4 separate regions of the Homo sapiens genome follow, and all the other regions are linked to region 1. The links are contacts of gene promoters, found by promoter capture Hi-C in blood cells and fetal thymus (Javierre and others, 2016). All regions are on one chromosome and are shown on one strand. Each heading gives the region's core, a stretch centred on a gene start or on the middle of the fragment in contact. The rest is flanking DNA. Distances are from core to core; before and after follow the strand shown. Region 1 holds the start of SLC25A11 (solute carrier family 25 member 11). Region 2 overlaps ANKFY1 (ankyrin repeat and FYVE domain containing 1). Region 3 overlaps DERL2 (derlin 2). Region 4 overlaps DHX33 (DEAH-box helicase 33).

The links. Contacts are between HindIII fragments. The CHiCAGO score rates a contact against its expected background, and 5 or more counts as called.
Region 2: a fragment that was not itself captured here is called in contact with the fragment with the promoter of SLC25A11 in region 1 in 2 of 17 cell types (total CD4 T cells and activated CD4 T cells); the score reaches 5.1 in total CD4 T cells.
Region 3: a contact is called between a fragment that was not itself captured here and the fragment with the promoter of SLC25A11 in region 1, in 1 of 17 cell types (naive B cells). The highest score is 5.6, in naive B cells.
Region 4: a contact is called between a fragment that was not itself captured here and the fragment with the promoter of SLC25A11 in region 1, in 1 of 17 cell types (naive B cells). The highest score is 5.4, in naive B cells.

What each region holds. Positions count from the first base shown.
Region 1 is chr17:4,938,796-4,942,417 of GRCh38, reverse strand. It overlaps SLC25A11 (solute carrier family 25 member 11), which reads left to right and starts at 2,372. Exons shown (of 8, transcript NM_003562.5): 1 at 2,372-2,602; 2 at 3,206-3,358; 3 at 3,443-3,622. The coding sequence starts at 2,508. It overlaps RNF167 (ring finger protein 167), which reads right to left and starts at 2,150. Exons shown (of 10, transcript NM_015528.3): 1 at 2,058-2,150; 2 at 1,425-1,931; 3 at 1,261-1,341; 4 at 1-77. The coding sequence starts at 1,508. RefSeq lists enhancers at 1,243-1,372, 2,253-2,322, 3,039-3,564, 3,565-3,622 and silencers at 1,706-1,900, 2,463-2,532. The HindIII fragment of the contact is 8,197 bases long and covers 1-3,622 here.
Region 2 is chr17:4,257,069-4,260,690 of GRCh38, reverse strand. All of the region lies in intron 1 of ANKFY1 (ankyrin repeat and FYVE domain containing 1), which reads left to right. Among named protein-coding and RNA genes, the nearest start is that of ANKFY1, 5.1 kb to the left of the region's middle. The HindIII fragment of the contact is 2,575 bases long and covers 364-2,938 here.
Region 3 is chr17:5,471,177-5,474,798 of GRCh38, reverse strand. It overlaps DERL2 (derlin 2), which reads left to right. Exons shown (of 7, transcript NM_016041.5): 7 at 10-3,545. The coding sequence ends at 115. Among named protein-coding and RNA genes, the nearest start is that of DHX33-DT, 3.9 kb to the right of the region's middle. The HindIII fragment of the contact is 2,819 bases long and covers 518-3,336 here.
Region 4 is chr17:5,451,405-5,455,026 of GRCh38, reverse strand. It overlaps DHX33 (DEAH-box helicase 33), which reads left to right. Exons shown (of 12, transcript NM_020162.4): 7 at 1,047-1,206; 8 at 1,359-1,447. Among named protein-coding and RNA genes, the nearest start is that of C1QBP, 14 kb to the right of the region's middle. The HindIII fragment of the contact is 6,981 bases long and covers 1-3,622 here.

The DNA.
Region 1 (3,622 bases), core at 1,123-3,622:
GACCCATTGACCGGGGCTGGGGGTGGTGGGGCAATGGGGCTGCAGGCATTGTCTGGGTGAGCCTCCACAAGGAACCCCTGAAGGATGGAAGCAAACAACAGTGAGATTTCTCCTTTCTAGATTCTGCTCTCTACAGGGGCCACCAAACACACCAGCCCACATGCTGCACATCCTCTATCCTCACTTCCTCCTCCTTCCTGGGGTCTGAGTGAGCATCCCACCATCACAACCTTCTCTTAGCCTCTTGAAAAGGCAATGACATAAAACATCCCTTCACCAAACTCTCCCATCATCCCTCTCGCTGTCCCAGATGGGCTAATCTGTACCCTATACTGCAAGCTAATGCAATTATTTTTGCCTTCTAATATTCCAATTGTAATTCAATTCTCAAACCACCCATGTCACTTTCTCTCAAGTTCTGTTTCACAGTCCCCTCTCCAGCACATACTCATACAGACACACTCCCCTCCCTTCAGTTTTCTTTTTGTTTTTCTTTTTTTTGAGATGGAGTCTCGTTTTGTCACCCAGGCTGGAGTGCAGTGGCGCGATCTCGGCTCACTGCAACCTCCACCTTCCGGTTTCAAGTGATTCTCCTGCCTCAGCCTCCCAAGTAGTTGGGACTACATGCGTGCACCATCACGCCCAGCTAATTTTTGCCATTTTAGTAGAGATAGGGTTTCTCCATGTTGGCCAGGCTGGTCTTGAACTGGGATTACAGATGTGAGCCACCGCGCCCGGCCTCTTCAATTTTCTAATTACCCATCTCACAAACAACTCGACTGCTACTAAGGCCCAACTGAGTTCTTGCTATGTGGCAGTCTTTGGGATGAAATACTACCAAAATTGCGTATCTACTTTGATCTTCACAATAACCCTAGGAAAACTTCTAATATCCCATTTTACAGTAAAACAAACTAAGGCTCAGAGAGATTAACTTGCCCAAAGTCATATAAGCAATAACTAGCACCTGAGACCTTCCTGATAAGGACCGTTGATCCTGCCTTCTGTCTTCGTCCACTTTCAGTCTCCCTGATAACCTCGGAGTTCCAGGGGTGGACACTCTGTCTTCTCCCTCTAGATTCTGGGTTCTACACTAGACGTGCTCAGTTCCTAACTTCATTTTCCTACCTCCAGTTTCACCCAGGACAAACCTCCCCAACCCCAGCCTAGGATGGAGGATCTTGCGAAATACTAAAAAAAGAAAAAAGACAGAAAAGGAAGGAAGGGAGGGAAGGAGGAAAAGAAAAGAAAGAAAATCACCTGGAGGCCCTCCTGGCTCAAGGTAGCCCCAAACAGAGCTGGAAGGTCTGCAAAGTCCATGCTGGCATTGTGGTCCGAGGTCTGCGGACAAAAAAGGCGATGTTCCCCTTCAGCCTGCAACCCTTCCTTTCAGCGCCCTTTCCCCATCCGTCCCTCAGACTCACCGCTCGAATGAGCCCCCGGGTCGGGGCCGCTCCCCACAGCACAGCGGCCACAACCACAGGAAGCGGGAAGGCTGCAGGGTGCATGGCAGCGGGAGGAAAGAGGCTGAGGAGGCCGCGCGTCCTGGTAGCAAGGAGCAGAAGCGGAGTTCTGCGCCCTCCCTGCCCCTCCTTTAGGATCCCAGGGGTCCAACCACCCCCAGGTCCCACTTCCCAGCTACATGGGGGCGCCGGGGAAGGAACACCAACTCAAAGAATGAGATATCCAACCCGTTTAGTGGAGCTGGGTGGGAGGCACTAAATGTATCCTTTTCTGGTACGGGGATAAAACGCGGAAAGGGGACGGAGCCTAACACAGGTGACAGAAAAACTTCGGGAAGGGTGGCGGAGCTCAAGGAGGTGGGACTTCCTGCTAGGTGGGCCGTGTTCCCAGCCTCTGGAAAAGGGCTTCCGGTAGAGAAAATCAGGCCGCTTTCAGCATTGGATGCTTGAGATGAAGGACTTCCGGTCCTAAAAGGCCGGTTAAAAAAAGGTTAGCGATGGAGGGACTGCCTGTGGAGATGGAAGGGGCACTGGTGGCCCAGAAGACGACCTAATAAAAGTGCCCGGAAACCCGGAGCCTCCTAGTTTACAAACCTCTCCTCCCTCTGGCCTCCGCCGCTCCTTCAAATCTCGCGAGAGTGCTCACCACCTCTCCCGTCCCCTCGCAGCTGAATAGTTGCTGTGTCTATCGCGAGAGCGCTCCAACTTGGCGAGCCGTACTCACTCGATCTCGCGAGACCTTCAAACAAACTCTTCTCTATTTTCCCGCGATTCTAATTCGGTGAAAACAGCGCCTTTCCTCTGGTTTCCAAATCAGTTACGCCCCTTCTCGCACGCTTCCATCAAGCTCCTCCTTCAGCTCCGCCTTACTCCCGGCCGCCTTTGCGCTGCGCGCCTGCGCCCGCGCCGGCTTCCAGCGGGTGTCGGACCTGAGAGCTGGAGGGGCGTGCGCGCGCCCTCGCTCTGTTGCGCGCGCGGTGTCACCTTGGGCGCGAGCGGGGCCGCGCGCGCACGGGACCCGGAGCCGAGGGCCATTGAGTGGCGATGGCGGCGACGGCGAGTGCCGGGGCCGGCGGGATAGACGGGAAGCCCCGTACCTCCCCTAAGTCCGTCAAGTTCCTGTTTGGGGGCCTGGCCGGGTAAGCTCAGGCCCCAGGGATGGGAAAAGAGGAGGAAGGGAAGGGCAAAAGGAACCGGGCCCGGTTCATCTCTGGGTCTGTTGCAGTGAACTGTGCCGGCACGGGGTCAGCGCGATCTCCAGCGTATTGCGAGTTCCCCGATGGGCTGCTAGGGCCCCATTGCAGGACCCTTATGGACTGCATGCAGGGTCGTTGCACAACCCCCGCCGGGCCAGCTGAGTTTCCCAGCGCATTGCTAAGCTCGGCCGGGCGGCAGGGGGTTCCAGGCCATTAAATGGCTCCTGCAGGACTACCTGGAGTCCTAAATCTTGGATGCCCCTTCCTCCCCTCCCTGTGTCGGACTGCGTGCAGCCCCAGGTCACTGCTTGACTGTCATGAAGCTGCTTGGAGCACTTTCATTGCATGGCCCCTACTGGACAACTAGACTTTTCAGACCCGTTGCACTTGGTGTACATATAGACTCTTATACACATGCTCACCAGCATCCTGATTCTTGAATCGCATGGCAGGCCCTGACCTTTGTAACCTCTTGCTGCCAGGCTCCAGTGGGCACTGGTAGATCTGGAATGCCTGGCCCTTCACTCCACCTCTGTCTTCCCCCAGGATGGGAGCTACAGTTTTTGTCCAGCCCCTGGACCTGGTGAAGAACCGGATGCAGTTGAGCGGGGAAGGGGCCAAGACTCGAGAGTACAAAACCAGCTTCCATGCCCTCACCAGTATCCTGAAGGCAGAAGGCCTGAGGGGCATTTACACTGGGTATTGGGGCCTCAGGATGGAGGGTAGACTGTGGGTTGGCAGCTCTAGACCTTGGCCTGATATGCTGACCCCTCTGCTCCTCAGGCTGTCGGCTGGCCTGCTGCGTCAGGCCACCTACACCACTACCCGCCTTGGCATCTATACCGTGCTGTTTGAGCGCCTGACTGGGGCTGATGGTACTCCCCCTGGCTTTCTGCTGAAGGCTGTGATTGGCATGACCGCAGGTGCCACTGGTGCCTTTGTGGGAACACCAGCCGAAGTGGC
Region 2 (3,622 bases), core at 402-2,901, 680 kb after region 1:
CTCTACATCTCTGTGGCTATCCTGCTTAATCTAAGCTTCATTTGTGGGTTTTTTTTTTTTTTTTTTTTTTTTGGAGACAGGATCTCACTCCGTCACCCAGGCTGGAGTACAATGGCGTGATCACAGCTCATTGCAATCTCCACCTCCCAGGCTCAAGTGATTCCCTCACTTCAGCCTCCCAAGTAGCTGGGAGTGCAGATGTGCATGCCACCACATTGGCTAATTTTTGTATTTTTTGTAGAGTTGGGGTTTTGTGATGTTGTCCAGGCTGGTCTTGAACTCCTGGGCTCAAGCCATTCACCTGCCTGGGCCTCCTGAAGTGCTGGGATTACAGGTGTGAGCCACCGCTCCCAGCCCTAAGCTTCGTTTGTAAGTGAACTACTTCAAAAGGTTCCAATTAAAAGTTTGCTTTTAACTTTTCCTCCTAGATTTTGCTCTCTCACAGCCTAATTTCACAGTTTCTAGTGTTCCCTTTAAGACATCAATCAGATCATGTCTCTCCTACTCTTCTTAATACTCCTGCCCCTCAATGCCCAACTCTCACACTTCTCCGTAATCTTAAAATATATTCCAGTTCTCTGTTAAGTATTAACAGGGTGTGGGCCCCACTTAACACTTCGAGCTTATTTCCTACTTTCATTCACTGTGCCCCTGCCACACTGACTTTTTTGCGTTCTTTGTGTGTGCCCGACATGCTGCTACCTCTGCGTCTTTGTCCCTGCAGTTTCCTTGGCCTGGAACAGTCCTCCGCTGTTTCTCCACACAACTGACCCACTTTATTCACTCAGTGTCTGTTCAGTTGTCATCTCATTAGAGAGCATCCCTCACTGGAATATAAACCCCATGAGGGCAGGAACTTGGTCTGTTTTGCTCACTCCTGTATCTCCCAGCTTAGAATCATGGCTGTGGTTGAAGGAATGTATGAATTTATTGAGCATCACCTGCTAGCCATCAAGAAAAGTTGCCTGGATACATCCTTAGCCTCTTGTCAAGCAAACTGGCTGGTCCACCTTTTATTATACTCTGCATAACCTAAGTCTGCTAGGAGCTACCTAACCTACTTTTCATCCAGCCCATTTTTGTTTTAGCAACTAAAATACAATGTTTAAGGCCGGGCACGGTGGCTCACGCCTGTAATCTCAGCACTTTGGGAGGCCAAGGTGGGCGGATCACTTGAGGTCAGGAGTTCCAGACCAGCCTGACCAACATGGTGGAACCCCATCTCTACTAAACATACAAAAATTAGCCAGGCATGGTGGCATGTGCCTGTAATCCCAGCTGCTCAGGAGACTTGAGTCAGGAGAATCACTTGAACCCGGAAGGTGGAGGTTGCAGTGATCCGAGATCGCGCCACCGCACTCCAGCCTGAGCAACAGAGACTGTCTCAAAAAATAATAATAATAAAATAAAATGTAGTGTTTAAGAGCTCAGACTCTGCAGCTGGACATGGATTTAAATCCTAGTTTAAGCTGTGATCATAAGCAAGTCAATTAATTGCTGTCAGTCTCAGTGTCCTCAGCTTTAAAAGGGGGATCATCTGTAGCTCACAAGTAGCTGTGGGAATCCTAGGATATTTCTCAGTTGCAGGAAGAGCCTTTTTCCACAGCGCCTAATGTTTCTTCCACAGCGACTGATGCTTTTCCCACAGCGCCTGATGCTTTCACCCTGGTGCACAGTCTTTCTCTTGAGTCTCCTCTAAAATCACTCTCCATTTCTTTTCCTCAGTAAAAGTAAAAATTGAAAAAAATGTAATTTTTTTGTAAATAGTATATTGAACAGAAAATTTATCATAAACTTTTGTTAGCTTGATGGAATTTGATCAGAAAAATACTTTTGACAACAACCCAAGCAAAATGGGGAAAACATTCCATGTCCTGGGTATTCATTGACCAACACAATAGTCACTAGCCACATGTGGCTACTTAAATTTGATTAAAATTAAATAAAATTTAAAATTAACTTCTCAGTTGTACTAGTCCTATTCCAAGTACTCAGTAGCCATGTGGCTAGTAGCTCCCCCTAATGGACAGCACAGATTAATAGAACACTTGCACCATTGCCAGAAGTGCTTTGGATAGTCCTGTTCCAGAAAATGCTTCATTAGTGGAGGCTGGTAGAAATAAGGAAAGAAGGAACTTTGCTGTTTCCACTTTTTTTTTTTTTTTTTGAGTTGGAGTCTGGCTCTGTCTCCCAGGCTGGAGTGCAGTGGTGCGATCTCGGCTCACTGCAAGCTCCCCTCCCAGGTTCACACCATTCTCCTATCTCAGCCTCCCGAGTAGCTGGGACTACAGGCGCCCGCCACCAAGCCTGGCTAATTTTTTGTATTTTTGGTAGAGATGAGGTTTCACCGTGTTAGCAAGGATGGTCTTGATCTCCTGACCTCGTGATCCGCCCGCCTCGGCCTCCCAAAGTGCTGGGATTACAGGCGTGAGCCACCGCGCCCGGCCCTACTTCTGAAATTTATCTGTTTATTGTTTTACTTATTGAACAAATGTCCCAGGTCATTGATAATTATATATAGTCCAGAGACCTCTTAAGGACTGTTCCTTTTATACCATTCTTTTCTTTTCTCTCCCTTTCCTGGTGACTACTGTCACCAGCTGTAGCTGTTAGCTTTCTCCTTGTGAATTATTTTTACTGAGAAATAAAATTTATCCATTAGTGGTTATGTCAAAGTAAAGCTACTGAATTGTGCTGAGATACACAGGATTCTGTCACTGGCAAGGTGATTTGCTGTAGGCAATTTGAGATACTATCATGATTTACAGCCTTGCTGAACCAAATGAGAAATTGCTATGTCCCCAGAATCTCCTGTTGAACCTGTGGTATTTATTGAACTCCATCTGGTAAGGTACTGTCGGGAGGAGGAGATAACCATGGAATGGGTATAGAGGGAGAAGTAATTGATAGTTAAATACGAATAGCCAGAACTAAAGCTTATTCACAGGGAGTTCTGAAGTCTAGGAGGGGAGATAAAAGAAATTGTATATGAGAAACTATATTTTAAGGTGAAGGGTAAAAAATGCTTAGGAGTTACTTTGAAAACTCAGGGAGAGATTTTTTAAGGAAGTAATGGGGAATGTATTTTGGATAATCAGGGAAAGTCTTGTTGCAGGAGACATTGCTTGAACTGAGCTTTGAAAAATGGCCCTCCTTTGGACATGGGGACATGAGATTGAGGAGAGGTCACTGTTCTAGGTGGAAGGAATTAGTGGGATGTGAAGTTGGAAGAGTATGTTAAGGGCCAGATTATTAAGGGCATTGGTTCAGCATTTGGATTTTATTCTGAGACTCATGGAGCGATACTACCGAAAGGAATCAGCCACGGTAGCGACAGAACAGGAATTGTGTGAGGCATGGCGAAATGACTGCAGTGTAGAGGATGGATTGGGAAGAAAGGAAGTCAGAGAGCAAGCTGTAGCAGTTGATGGTGAGCCATTTGGTAGAGGCTGTGGGGCTGGTGAGGACTGATGGGAGAAAGACCACAGAACGTATGAAAGACAGGACTTTTGAAACCTGGTTGAATGTTGATGAGAGAGAATCAAAGATGACTCAAGTTCTAGGTCTGGATGACTCAGACAAATGGCTGAGCTGCTAAGAGGTAGAGGAGGAATAGATTGGA
Region 3 (3,622 bases), core at 678-3,177, 530 kb before region 1:
GTCTTTTAGGAAAGCTATTTTTGATACACCAGATGAGGATCCAAATTACAATCCACTACCTGAGGAACGGCCAGGAGGCTTCGCCTGGGGTGAGGGCCAGCGGCTTGGAGGTTAAAGCAGCAGTGCCAATAATGAGACCCAGCTGGGAAGGACTCGGTGATACCCACTGGGATCTTTTATCCTTTGTTGCAAAAGTGTGGACACTTTTGACAGCTTGGCAGATTTTAACTCCAGAAGCACTTTATGAAATGGTACACTGACTAATCCAGAAGACATTTCCAACAGTTTGCCAGTGGTTCCTCACTACACTGGTACTGAAAGTGTAATTTCTTAGAGCCAAAAAACTGGAGAAACAAATATCCTGCCACCTCTAACAAGTACATGAGTACTTGATTTTTATGGTATAAGGCAGAGCCTTTTCTTCCTCTTCTTGATAGATGAGGCCATGGTGTAAATGGAAGTTTCAGAGAGGACAAAATAAAACGGAATTCCATTTTTCTCTCACTGTATTAAAGCTTTTGTGTGTGATCTTTTAAATTCTGATAATGTATTGTAGCCCTCCTGCGTAGATCTGAGCTCAGAACAGTTTACACAGCTGTTCTTCCTGTGTCTTCACAACTTTTAACTGGATTTCATTTCAGGATTGGAAATACGTGGCTGTCATGCTGTGGTTGTGTACATCTTACTAACTCAGAATGCAAGATTCAGCAGGAAGATGATTTATTTCTGTCATCTGGATAGGTTGTTTTGCATCTGGGTTTTGCCAAACTTTGTCAGACAACATGAAAAAAAAGGAGGGAGGATGGTTCTTGTAGCAGTAGGAATTCAGCTATAGGAAAGTCAGCTGTAAGCTAATGTGGCATCTTATTTGCTTTACTTACATTTCTCCATTAAGAAGTATCCAGGGAAAGATTGGTAAGGGCCACATTTTTGTAAAACTAGGAAGATTTTCATTAGACTTTTTTTTTCTTTTATTTTTAAAAAAGTTTTAATTAAAAATTTTTTTTTAAATACAGATGGGGTCTCACTGTGTTGCCCAGGCTGGTCTTGAACTCCTGGACTCAAGCAATCCTCCCACCTCAGCCTCCCAAAGTGCTAGGATGACAGGCATGAGCCACCATGCCCAGCCATTTTTTTTTTTTTTGCCTTTTTTGTTTTGTTTTGTTTTTTGTTTTTTTAATTAAAAAAAAAAAATAGAGACAGGGTCTCAGATTTTCATTAGATTTGGAAACCAAGTTAGAATGTTGACTTTGGAGCCAGACGAACAGATACCAGTTAGCTAGGCATATGTTCTTCCAGGGTCTTTGGCTAGTTAACATTAGTCATTTGCTTCGTGAAAATTCAAGAACCTTTTCAGAGCCAAGTACCTGGATTACCTTCCCAATCAGGTAGAAATTAGACAGGGTCCACAGAAGTAGACACTTAATGCTGTGGTTCAATAAATACTTCCCCTAAATATTAAGTCTTCCCTGAGTCTCAGCAGGTTTGCATTCACACTGCTTAAGTAACTTCCAGAACCTGGAAGAGTCGAAAGAGCACCCCTAGGAAAGAGATGATTCCAAACAGCTTTCATTAACGGCATGTAGGCACAGGTCCCTTTCCCAAAAGTGGATTGTTAGTAGTAGTTCATTCAACCTTTGTTAAGGGGTAGCTTTCCAGAATGTGACATTGTCCTCAGAAAGATAGACATAGGCTTAAACATAATGGACATCCTAAATAGGAATTTTCAGATTGTTTTTGAAGTGAAAAGTGTTTTAATGTCTTTAAATGGAATTGCATAACTAATGGTATTTAAGTATTTTACATGTTGCTAATAACTTTGAATATGATTGTTGCAATTTTATGGAACCTGGGTCTATGGGACTGCTTTTTAAGCAGTTTAAAAAAGGTTTTCAAAGTTTAAAAGCCAATCTTAGCATGTATAATCCTTATGGGATTCTTAAGTTTTATCCTATCTTGTTTTTGCTCAAGAACGCTTTATCAGTGACGTTTGTTAGAATTTTGTTTTTTGTTTTTTTTTTTTAAATTGTTTTTGGGCTAGAAATGAGTTTCTCTAGTTTTATTTGTTCTCCCTGAGTTGGAGTTATGCAATGAATGGCATTTTTGTGGTAAAATACTAATCCTAAAATCTGTTAACTCACTGTTCATTTAAGTAGGGAATATCTGTATACATTAATGACTAGGTAAAACAGGAAATACATTTTGAATATACAGCCTAAAGGCAGGCAGTTACAGGGTTTTTGATTTCTCCGATTTTATAGGGTGCAAGTTCCCAGTGGCAGGATGCCCTGCTGTGTGACTGACTACACTGTGTCCTGAGCAGTGGTAATTTCAATCACCTCTCATCAGTTTGGCCAGCCCTACAACCACCATTCCTAGCCCTGTGTTGCTTGACAGGATACCTGTGCTTGAATGGACATAAGGAAAAGTCCTTACTTTCTCCCCAATTTACCTCTCAATCTTAGTTCTTCCAGAACACACTTCCCTTTCACAATGCAAATAAACTGAAAGTGAGATTTGATACATGGAATTTTGAGACCAACCAACTAACCTTACACATAATTTGAGGGATTCCTGGATTCTTCTAGTGATACTGAAAAGCACACTTGACTAAAGCATAGTGTTTTTTGTTTGTTATGGAAATACGGTATACGTTCATTTAAAAATAAATGGACATACAAATTGCATCTCCTTAGGAGATACATTTTATATACATTTCGGTGCGTTTTTTTCCAGTATGGATTTCTATTTGTTTCTCTCTTCCTCTTGTTTTTTCTGTGTCACTCTTGTATGTCCTCATATCTTTCATACCTCTTGTGTAGTCTCTAGAAGCAGAACACCTAAGTCCTGGGTCTGGATAATGAAACCCTCAGTCTCTGGGGCCTCTGAAAATAAGGAAGCATTGGAGCTATTGCCATGTTGAGTAATGGGCTTCCTAGAACTATTGTCATCTATCCTGCCAGTGTTTTATGTTGTAGCTGTTTTTCTTTGACAGGTGAGTTCCAGCTATGTTGTTAGTCATGATCCTGCCATTATTTTCTGTGTTCTGTAGGATGTCTCCAGGCTACTTAAACATATTTTATGAGTTTGCAATAAAATTGTTGAATCTTGTATGATCAAGTCACTCCTCTGCTCAGAAATCCACAGTGACTTCTTAGTAAGCCCCTACATTATATGCATACTTGTTTTTTTCTTAACTTTACTCCCACTTCTACCTAACAGGGACCTCAACTTAAGTCTCTTCAGTTCTTCAAGGCCTGGCCTTGTTCCTGATTCCTCAAAAAATCTTGACTCTAAGGCCTATTTTATTGTCTGTCTCTGAATCCCTATAAAGCTTCAAGTCTGTATGACATTCTTAACGCCAAATTATATATTGTCTTGTACTGTTCCTAGCTGGTACATGTATATTAGTCTTGTCTCCCTCATGAGAATGTAAGCTCCTTAAGGGCAGGGACCATGTCTTAATTTTTGTATCCACCACAGTGCCTAGCACAGTGCTTGGCACATGGGTGCTGAATAAATACCTTTGTTTATTGATCAGCAAAGTATTATCTGGTATTTTTAATTATAGAGGGATTAAAGTGTATGCATGCAAGCTTGAGCCTAGTTGCTGAAGCTTGTG
Region 4 (3,622 bases), core at 526-3,025, 510 kb before region 1:
TCACCTACACTCCAGGTCCGCGAAGGAGTCCTGAGGCGGGTATGTGAGACAGGAAGTAGAGGCAGGAAAGAAGAGCCCAGGTTGAGCAAACTTGGGCACACAGGGTCAGGGACCTGGGCAGAGGGTCTGGTACCCCATCAGAAGTCGGCTCTAAGGCCAGGGACAGCTGGGTGTCAATCAAAGGGTGTCATCAGAAACTATATATATATGGCTGGTTTGAGCTCCCAGGTTTCTCAGGAAGGAACCAGATCTCCTGGCTGAGGTGAGGCATGGAAGGAGCACTGGCTTCTCCTAAGAAGGTGCAGTGAGAAGCTAACTTAAGGTCATCTTGACTCATGTCTGTTTTATACTTTGCTTTATTCCACAGAGGATTTGAGACCACTGAAATTATTGCTCCCAATTATTGAACTGAAATGCTCTAGTAAACATTTGAGGGTCCTGGCTTCCACAGGTGTATCTTTTTGTGATGACGTAGGTGAAAGAGCTTGGGTCTCCAGTGCCAGGCTAATGATACACCTTTATCAAGAAAATGAACCTCATTTACTGCTAGAAAACAGACATCACATTATTTCTGTCTTACAGCAGAACTGGGAGGGAGGATAAAGCACACAAGTGATTTGAGGCATTTAATTTCGTAGTCATTGATTGATAGTATGACCCCCATCCTAGTTTGCTGAAACTCCCAGTTTTAGCACCCAAAATCCGACATCCCAGGAAACCCTCTGTCCCAAGCAAACTGGAGGGGTTGGCCATCCTACCATCTAAGGCAAGACCTCGGAAACTACTCTTCTCGCCCCTTGCTGCATGCGTGAGGTTTTTCTGATGTTTTTGTAACAGATTTCACAGTGGGCTTATGGCAAAGCCTTGTTTCACTAGGGCCAAACCGCTGCGGAGCAGTCTGGTTTTGTGCTGTCCATTGTGCTAGCCTTGAGGCTTTCTGGACCCCCGTGTTGCTGAAAGAACCACTGGTGTGCTTCTTTTTATCGACACTGTAGAAAGAGTTTGTTCATGTGATGAAGCACTAATGGGGCTCACTCTCCATCCAGACAGTGGTCTTGAGGTGTTAGCAGTGCAGCGGGTATCGAAGACGCAGGCTTGGCAGCGCACAGGGAGGGCTGGCAGAGAGGACAGTGGCATCTGCTACCGGCTCTACACGGAGGACGAGTTTGAGAAGTTTGATAAGATGACCGTGCCAGAGATCCAGAGGTAGGCACCAGTTGCTCCTGCACTGCTGCTGTTTGTCACCATGTCTCTCCTGCTTGCCCAGAGCTGCAGTTTTTACTCACACTCCACCATGAGGGGTTCTGACTCAATGGCAGAGGGATCAGGTCATGACCCTGGTCTCATGCTCTTCACAGGTGTAACCTGGCCAGTGTGATGCTTCAGCTTCTAGCAATGAAAGTCCCAAATGTGCTCACCTTTGACTTCATGTCGAAGCCATCTCCAGGTAAGTGAAATCCACAGTTTTGCAGAAGGTGGGTGAGGAGACAAACAACAACAAATGGACACTTCCAAAAAAATAAAGTATATTGGTCATCTCCTTTTGTTTATTTAATTTTGTGGATGACAACATTAGTTATTAGAGAAGCATCTGAAAATCATGAAATGATAGATAGATACATTGATTGACTTTTAAAGAGACAGGGTCTCACTGTGTGGCCCAGGTGGAGGTGCAGTGACTATTCACAGGCTCCATCACAGCCTCCAACTCCTGGGCTCCAGCGATCCCCCCGCCTCAGCCTCCCAAGTAGCTGGGACCACAGGCATGCGCCAGTGTTCCTAGCTATGAAACGATAGATTCTGTACTATCAGCACCATCAATAAAGTTCCTTGACCTCTGGAACCAGTGAAGGTCATCATGCGAGTCCTTGGGATACTACAGAAATGTAATGAAATTGTACTTTTATCAGCACAGGGACTGCAAAGATCACATTTCTTTGCCTTTAACTGGAATTTGATCCATCTCTCCTGTTCATTAGTAATTTCTCTACAGAAGAAGAAAATAATTGGAAATATTTATGATATTGGCTTTGGCACCTGGCCTCTCATCAACGCACCATTTTCCTTTTCTTTTTATTGCCCCCCCTTTTCTTAAGAAATGCAATTGGTTTAAAAAAGAAGGAAAGAAAACACAAAGTCACCAGTTGATGGGTATACAAGGGTCCTGCCCTGATCCTCAGGTTCACAGTTTCCTTCCCCTAGAACAACCACTGGAACCATTTTCTAGTAGACTTCTAGAGCAAATGTATGCATATATGAGTATATGTAGTGTGTTTGATTTTATTTATGTATTTATTTATTTATTTTTGAGACAGGGTCTCACTCTGGTTGTCCAGGCTGGAGTGCAGTGGCACATTCTCAGCACACTGCAGCCTCAACCTCCCGGGCTCAGGTGATTCTCCCACATCAGCTTCCCAAGTAGCTGGGACTACAGGTGTGAGCCACCAAGCCCCTGCTGTAGTATGTTTTTGTTTTTGTTTTTGTTTTGAGACAGGGTCTCACTCTGTTGCCCAGGCTGGAGTGCAGTGGTGCGATCCCAGCTCACTGCAACCTCCACCTGCCGGGTTCAGGTGATTCTCCTGCCTCAGCCTCCCGAGTAGCTAGGACTACAGGTGTGCACCACCATGCCCGGCTAATTTTTGTATTTTTTAGTATAGATGGAGTTTCACTATGTTGACCAGGCTGGTCTTGAACTCCTGACCTAGGTGGTCCGCCCACCTCGGTCTCCCAAAGTGCTGGGATTACAGGCGTGAGCCACCACGCCCAGCCTGTAGTATGTTTTAAAACACAAATAGCAACACACATTGAGTATTGTTCTGTGCTTGATTTTTTTTCTTTCATTGCTAAATTCTTACATACAAATGAAGAAGATACATAAGGTGTAAGGAATGGTTAAAATCTAACACCTGTGTACCCAATTGAAGCCCCCAGGAGTCCCCCCCACCCACTTGCCCTCGCCTCCTTCCACTCTTTTGGGGTACCCACTCTTCCATATTTTGTTTGTAATTGCCTTGCTTTTCTTCACTGTTTTACTATATGCGTATGTATCCCTAAACCACCTGTTGTTTGTAAGTTTATGTTAGTTATTCTTGAGTAAGCGGTTTTCATTCAGCTTGTTCCGTATAGTATATTTGTGCTGATGCTTTTTCACACTAAGTGCTATTCCATTCTGTGAATAAACCAAAATGCATTTATCCATCCTTCAGTTGATAAATATTGCTTTAAAAAAGCAATGAGAAACACACTGCTTTTTTTCATTTAATACATTTTACAGATCACTCCTTATTGGGATGTATATATTTACTACATCCTTAGAAATGCTTTTTTATTCTTTAATAGGTACTATATTTACATGGTTCAAAGTTTAAAATATATAAAATAGTAAATAGTAATAATGTCCTTCTCATCCCCTTGTCTCCCAGCCTCCCCAGCTGGCCCCTGAGACAACTGCTATTTCCACTGTTATGTGTTTGGTTCTGGCGATATGGTCTCTGTGCGATGTGTATCTGCAGGTGAAATTCGTAAGTGTAACATTGCTGGGTCAGATGTTACACTTTTAATGTGTATATTCAAAATCTACATACATATTGCCAAATTACAGGTCATTTAAAAAGAAAATTGA